Regions from separate parts of the Homo sapiens genome. Here region 2 is linked to region 1. Evidence: promoter capture Hi-C in 16 types of primary human blood cells and fetal thymus (Javierre and others, 2016). All regions are on one chromosome and are shown on one strand. The core of a region is centred on a gene start or on the middle of the fragment in contact, and the rest is flanking DNA. Distances in the headings are between cores, read along the strand shown.

Region 1 (3,589 bases), core at 1,055-3,554:
GTCGTTTCCTCAGTAGCATAAAGTCACCAGGTGTTCAGATTCGGCATAGGGCTCATTCTACGCCCTAGTTCCTTTTCCCCGGGAATGCTTTTTCTGTGATGCTTCTTGATGCTATATTTTCCTATTTATTGAAGGTGAAAATAGTCATATTGCTGAAAATCCTTATAATATATACTTGAGTGCCTTAAATAAAAGGCTTTGTGTTAATAAGATTCTAGAATTCAAGAAAAACTGTTGTTAGAACGAGGACCAGATGGCCAACTTCTAGAGAAAGTGCTTCCAGATACCTCTGAATGACTCTTCAGATTTGAGAACAAGGGCCTTTCTAGAGAAGGAAAACCATTAGGCTCCTTCTTAGTCCGAGGCTGGTCAGGCCCCTTGTCTAAAATTCCCCCCAAATGTGTGGGGTACTTTGTTTTTTATTAAGCAGGATTAAGTTACACTAAGGTGCTTTGGATTAAGGCCTTGACATCAACCCAAACACATCTAGGTGCACAGAACAATCAAAAAGTGACTTTTGCGCAGAATTTAAGGTAAACGTTTAGGCAGAAGTGACTGAGAAGAATAAAAGCCTAGATAACCTCCAGGAGAAGAGTGAAGCCCAGGCATACCCCAGAATCGTGACACTTACTGCCACCGTACATCTGGATGTACTGGATGACTAACAGTACAGTCTATTTTTTCAAGAAGGTTATAAAAATCTATGGGCTCCACACTGCGTGTAATGTGGGTGAGGTAACAAGCTGGCGAGAATTTTTGCTTCTGCATTTCCTGATTTAGGAAAGAGGAGTGGTAGGGGTGTAAAAGGTGTATTATGCCTATTACTGAATCTGTATGTATTTGGTCTAATAGTGGTTGCTTGGGCAAAAGTTACTCTCCTACACTGAATATGGAACCCCTTCCAAATCTTGTTCAGGTCCTCAAAGAATCAATGAAACCATTTTCCCTTTCTGATAAATCCGCTGGTCTTGTATCTAGTTGTGTGGATCCATAAATTAAAATACAGAGGATCATTTTCTCTGATCCAAAAATTCTTGGTTTGGGGGTAGTTAAAATGAAACTTCTGAAATTCTATCCTTAGTACGGACATTTAGGACCCAGGGGCTACATCCTAGAATGGAATTGTGCCCTGCTTCCATAAAACGGTTGATAAACCAACAGACACGACTGGATTGTCTTAAACCAAGTTCAACTGTCATTCCATTTTAATCAAAAAGTAAATTGGATTCAGCATATACGAATATATTGACTATCAGTACAACTGAGCCATACAACTGATAGTCTAAGGCTGATGACAAGGAGAAAGCTCCTAAAACAAGGCTTAGGGGAAGGCTGTTCCCCTGTAAGCAAAGCGGACTGAGGGCATTGGTGGCGCAGCAGCGTTCAGAAGTAGAGGGAAGTTTTGATGTATCAAGTACCGAGGGAAACACACACAGCGTGTCTGGAAACCATCAGAAGATGCTAGAAGGAAGTAGTCATGGATAATTCTAGAAATTTCTAGAACACCGACTGGAGGGGGTCATTGTTTAAGATGAGTACAGCCGAGTTTCTCTCCAATTTAAGACACAAGACTGGAGAGAAAGGCGTCGTAGTAAACAGCCCCAACCGGGGGAGCAGGGGGTGTGATAATGAGGCGTTAAGGGGCATTAGGGACAGTAAGAAAAGGAGAGTTGGGGTGACGATTATTGAGCACTGCTATAGGAGGCGGCTCTCGCAGGGATAATCAAGGGAGAGGGGTGTGAAATAAGGGTAACGAATTGCAGGGGTAAACTGTGGGAAGGGGCTGCGCAGACTTCAACAGCAAAGAAAAAGAAGGAACGGGGCTGGGGCGTGGCCCAGAGAGGGAACGGCTCAATAACGGGCTACCGGGTGAAAAGAAGCCGGGTGGGGAGGCGCTCTGCTGACAGCTGCCGCTCCCCCGTGGCGCCCACAGGGTTAAAAATCAGGGGCCACGGGACCAGGCCGAACTCGGTTTCCAGGGCAACGGCTCCACAGTTCCGGCAGCGCAGGCCCGTACCATTGCGCGGGCGCGGGGGAGCGGGAGCGGCGGAGGGGACGCGCTGCAGGGCGGCGGAGCCGGGGCCGGCCCGGGCGCTACCAAACGCACGGCCCGCCTGCTCGCCCGGGGTCTGCGCCGAGCCGCGCTCCGGCCGGACGGCCGCGGCGTCCTTGGTGCGGGGGCCGGCAGCTCCCAAGTGGCCGCGGACGGCGGGGGAGAAGGAACGCACGCCGCCGGCCGGGATTGGCCTCCTGGTCCCCCCGCCTGGGCGGCGGAGTGCGGGCGGCCCGGGGCTGGGAGGTTTGAAAAGCGGGCGAGAGACAAAGGCAGCAGGAAGCCTCCTCCGCGCCCGGAGCCCGTGCGCCCGGCCCCCGGGGCCCCCTCGCCGCCCGCCGGCCCGCGGAGCAGCGGCGGCGGCAGGAGGCGGAGGATGCGGCAGGGGGCGTGGGCGCGGCGGCGCGGGCGGAGCGGCGCGGCCCGGGCGCGGCGTGGGTAGAGCCGAGGCGGCGGCGGCGGCCGGCCTCCGGGAGCGAGAGCGAGGCGCCTTCCCCGCCCGGGATGTGAGCGCCGTGCGGAGCCCGGGGCGGGGGAGGGCCGGGCCGGAGGCGCAGCCGGCAGGAAGGAAGGACGGACGGACCAGGAGGAGGAGCGGCGGCGGCGGCCGGAGCCGGAAGGCGGGGAGGGGCCGGCCGTTGGGCCCGAGGCGGCGGCGGCGGCGGCGGCGGCGGCTGGGGAGAAGCGCTCTCGTCGCCTGCCCGAGGCCGGAGCGGCGGGGCCCGCGCCTCCTCCCCCCAGCGCCGCGGAGGGGGGAGGAGGAAGATGGAGACCCACATCTCATGCCTGTTCCCGGAGCTGCTGGCCATGATCTTCGGCTACCTGGACGTCCGGGACAAGGGGCGCGCGGCGCAGGTGTGCACCGCCTGGCGGGACGCCGCCTACCACAAGTCGGTGTGGCGGGGGGTGGAGGCCAAGCTGCACCTGCGCCGGGCCAACCCGTCGCTGTTCCCCAGCCTGCAGGCCCGGGGCATCCGCCGGGTGCAGATCCTGAGCCTCCGCCGCAGCCTCAGCTACGTGATCCAGGGCATGGCCAACATCGAGAGCCTCAACCTCAGCGGCTGCTACAACCTCACCGACAACGGGCTGGGCCACGCGTTTGTGCAGGAGATCGGCTCCCTGCGCGCTCTCAACCTGAGCCTCTGCAAGCAGATCACTGACAGCAGCCTGGGCCGCATAGCCCAGTACCTCAAGGGCCTGGAGGTGCTGGAGCTGGGAGGTTGCAGCAACATCACCAACACTGGCCTTCTGCTCATCGCCTGGGGTCTGCAGCGCCTCAAGAGCCTTAACCTCCGCAGCTGCCGCCACCTTTCGGATGTGGGCATCGGGCACCTGGCCGGCATGACGCGCAGCGCGGCGGAGGGCTGCCTGGGCCTGGAGCAGCTCACGCTACAGGACTGCCAGAAGCTCACAGATCTTTCTCTAAAGCACATCTCCCGAGGGCTGACGGGCCTGAGGCTCCTCAACCTCAGCTTCTGTGGGGGAATCTCGGACGCTGGCCTCCTGCACCTGTCGCACATGGGCAGCCTGCGCAGC
Region 2 (3,184 bases), core at 114-2,613, 460 kb after region 1:
TGAACCCGGGAGGCGGAGGTTGCAGTGAGCTGAGATCACGCCATTGCACTCCAGCCTGGGCAACAAGAGCAAAACTATGTCTCAAAAAAAAAAAAAAAAAGTTACTGAGGACCCCCAATTATTGAGTTTTTATTTATGTGAGTTATATCTATCAATATTTGCTACACTCAAAATTAGGGCCAGGTGCGGTGGCTCACACCTGTAATCCCAACACTTTGGGAGGCTGAGGCAGAAGGATCACTTGAGGCCAAAAGTTCAAGACCTCCCTGGGCAACATAGCAAGACACTATCTCTACAAAAAAAAATTTTTTTTAATTAGCCAAGTGTGGTGGCACACACCTATAGTTCTAGCTACTCAGGGGGCTGAAGCAGGAAGATCGCTTGAGCCCAGGAGTTCAAGGCTGCAGTGAGCTATGATCACACCACTGTACTCCAGCCTTGGTAGCAAAGCAAGACACTGTATCTTTAAAAAAAAAAAAAAAATTAGAACAGCTTTTAAATAACAATAAACCCATTATGTTAATCAAAGTAACATTTTAATTTCAAAAACCTGTATTTTCCCCCTAAAATAGTAAGAAGAATATAATTGTTTTAAATTTTTGCAAATCTCTTTAATATAATCAAGGGGGAGGGGGTGCACGAGGAGACTAGCTTTAGAATAAATGCAATTTTGGTACCATCTAACAAAGCTTAAATGAAAGACCCAAAAGAATGAAACTATTTCCAAGTATTTTACCAGCATCACAAAACAAAGTTCAGTAATATTTACAGGAATACAAAATGCCTAGCACCCAACAAGGTAAAACTCACAATGCTTGGCATCCAACCCAAACTCACCAGACAAGCAAAGAAGCAGAAAAACACAACTCATAATACAAGGACAAAAAGCATTCAGTGAAAACTGAGATCAGAAATAACACAGATTACGGTATGATCTCACTTACATATGGAATCTGAATAAAGTTGAACTCAAAGAAACAGAGAAGAGAATGGTGGTTACCAGGGGCTGGGGATAGGAACAGGGAGAGGCATGGGGAGATGCTGATCAAAGGGTACAAACCCTCAGTTATAAAACGAGTAAGTTCTGGGGATCTAATATACAGCAGCGTGTAATTAATAATGCTGTATTATATACCTGAAATTTGCCAAGAGAGTAAAAATCACAACACTCCGCCATGCAAACAAAAAAAGGTCCAAAAGGGAAGTGTCAGAACAGACTGAATATTGATTCAGTTAAAAGAAAAGGATTGCAACCACAGAGTAAAGACCTTAGTGGAATATGAAATTCAACAACCAGGCTGCTCAAGATGCCAAAGAACCCACTGACCCTTATCCACTGGCATTCAGGCACAGCTCAAGCCAGCCAGTGTTGCTACTAATCCTATTTGACAGTGTCAGGTTTGGTTCCTATTAGCTGAACCCATTACAAGGCATCAGTCATGGCGAAGGTGCTTACTGAATCTGGTGACCCTTCTACACAGTTAAGGAGGTCAAAGCCTTAGAAAAGTATACATGTCAGAAATTTGAAAAATAAATAAATCACATAATCATTTGCATCTAATTACTACATGCTAATCTGTATTTTGTATACTATATATTAATCTACCACTACCTCTAACCAAAAGCAAAAAACAAAGCACCTCATTAAAAACAAACAAACAAAAAAAAACCGGCCAGGTGTGGTGGCTCACACCTGTAATCCCAGCACTTTGGGAGGCCGAGGTGGGTGGATCACTTGAGGTGAGGAGTTCAAGACCAGCCTGGCCAACAATGTGAAATCCCGTCTCTACTAAAAATACAGAAAAATTAGTCAGGCGTGGTGGTGCATGCCTGTAATCCCAGCTACTCGGGAGGCTGAAGCAGGAGAATCACTTGAACCTAGGAGGCGGAGGTTGCAGTGAGCCAAGATTGTGCCACTGCACTCCAGCCTGGGTGACAAGAGCGAAACTCCGTCTCAATTAAAAAAAAAAAAACCCACATTATTTTATCCTGTATGTCCTAAATACACAAATTCTTACTACAAAGGCAAAAAGCTTAGGCATTCAAACCTGAAGTCTCAACTGCCTAATTTTCTTGTCTCTCAGTTCTTCTAAGCATTAATTTCAGAAAAAAGCCTTTCCATCTGCGGGACATGGATCTGTATGTAGGAACACATCCCTCATCACTTCTAAGTGTTTTTCATTCTGATGGCACCACCATCACACAGGACAACATTTGTGAGACCCCACATTGCTGCCTCTTTATGAAAGGCACCCAGATGCCCAAGCTGCACTTTATATTGGATCCATGATTCAGTTAAGTGACCTGGAAACATGTCAATGCTGACCGGACATAAATACCCGCACGGCACTGAGAGAGTGTCAAGTATGAATTGGTGACCGAAAAAGGTGACTGAAAAGGGAAAGAATAAGAACTCTTGTTATAAACATACAAACCTTTAGTATAAGTGTGGCTGGAAACACAGGCTTTGATACAAAAAATATTTCATATAATAAATATTAGGAACAGAAACTGCCCGTCCATACCCCTAATTATTAAATGATCTTTTATTGACTAAGTATTCAATTCACATCACCTGTGTACACTTTGTCTTAGTCTGCTTTTTTGTGCAGTACAGAATTCAAATATGCTAGTCTGGAGATTTGAGATAAAAACCACCACAAAAACCACTTTGCTACTACCAGATTAATTGCTCTGAATTCTACACTGATCTTTTGGTTTGGAGTGAACTAAATTTGTAGTATAATTTTGCGTGAGGTCCATATTTTACAAACCACAAAAAACATATTCAGGAAAACCCCTCAAAGACCAGCAGGACACACACAGTCATTGCCCTGACACCAGTCCTGGCAGGAGGAATAAAACCTTGTTTATTCACACCAGCAGAGCTGCAGGAACAGCATTCGCCCAACTTGCCAAGTTTGTCTGTAGCAAACAGGTCATGCCAACTTCAATAAAAACAGAAGGCTTTTGTCTACAAGGTTTTCTCTACCAATGGAAGTGAACAGAAAATGGCTACCCTACTGTTTTGGCCTCTCACTTCTGATCAAAAAACAATTAATTCTGGCTGGGCGCGGTGGCTCACACCTGTAATCCCAGCACTTTGGGAGGCCAAGGGGGCGGATCACAAGGTCAGGAGATCGAGACCATCCTGGCTAACAGGGTGAAACCCCATCTCTACTAA

What was found. Contacts are between HindIII fragments. The CHiCAGO score rates a contact against its expected background, and 5 or more counts as called.
Region 2: a contact is called between a fragment that was not itself captured here and the fragment with the promoter of FBXL14 in region 1, in 3 of 17 cell types (total CD8 T cells, M0 macrophages and naive CD4 T cells). The highest score is 6.6, in total CD8 T cells.

What each region holds. Positions count from the first base shown.
Region 1 is chr12:1,593,296-1,596,884 of GRCh38, reverse strand. FBXL14 (F-box and leucine rich repeat protein 14) reads left to right here and starts at 2,304. Exons shown (of 2, transcript NM_152441.3): 1 at 2,304-3,589. The coding sequence starts at 2,819. RefSeq lists enhancers at 1,600-1,669, 3,040-3,229 and a silencer at 1,930-2,799. The HindIII fragment of the contact is 12,621 bases long and covers 1-3,589 here.
Region 2 is chr12:1,131,645-1,134,828 of GRCh38, reverse strand. The region is part of intron 7 of ERC1 (ELKS/RAB6-interacting/CAST family member 1); the gene reads right to left. Among named protein-coding and RNA genes, the nearest start is that of ERC1, 140 kb to the right of the region's middle. The HindIII fragment of the contact is 1,344 bases long and covers 692-2,035 here.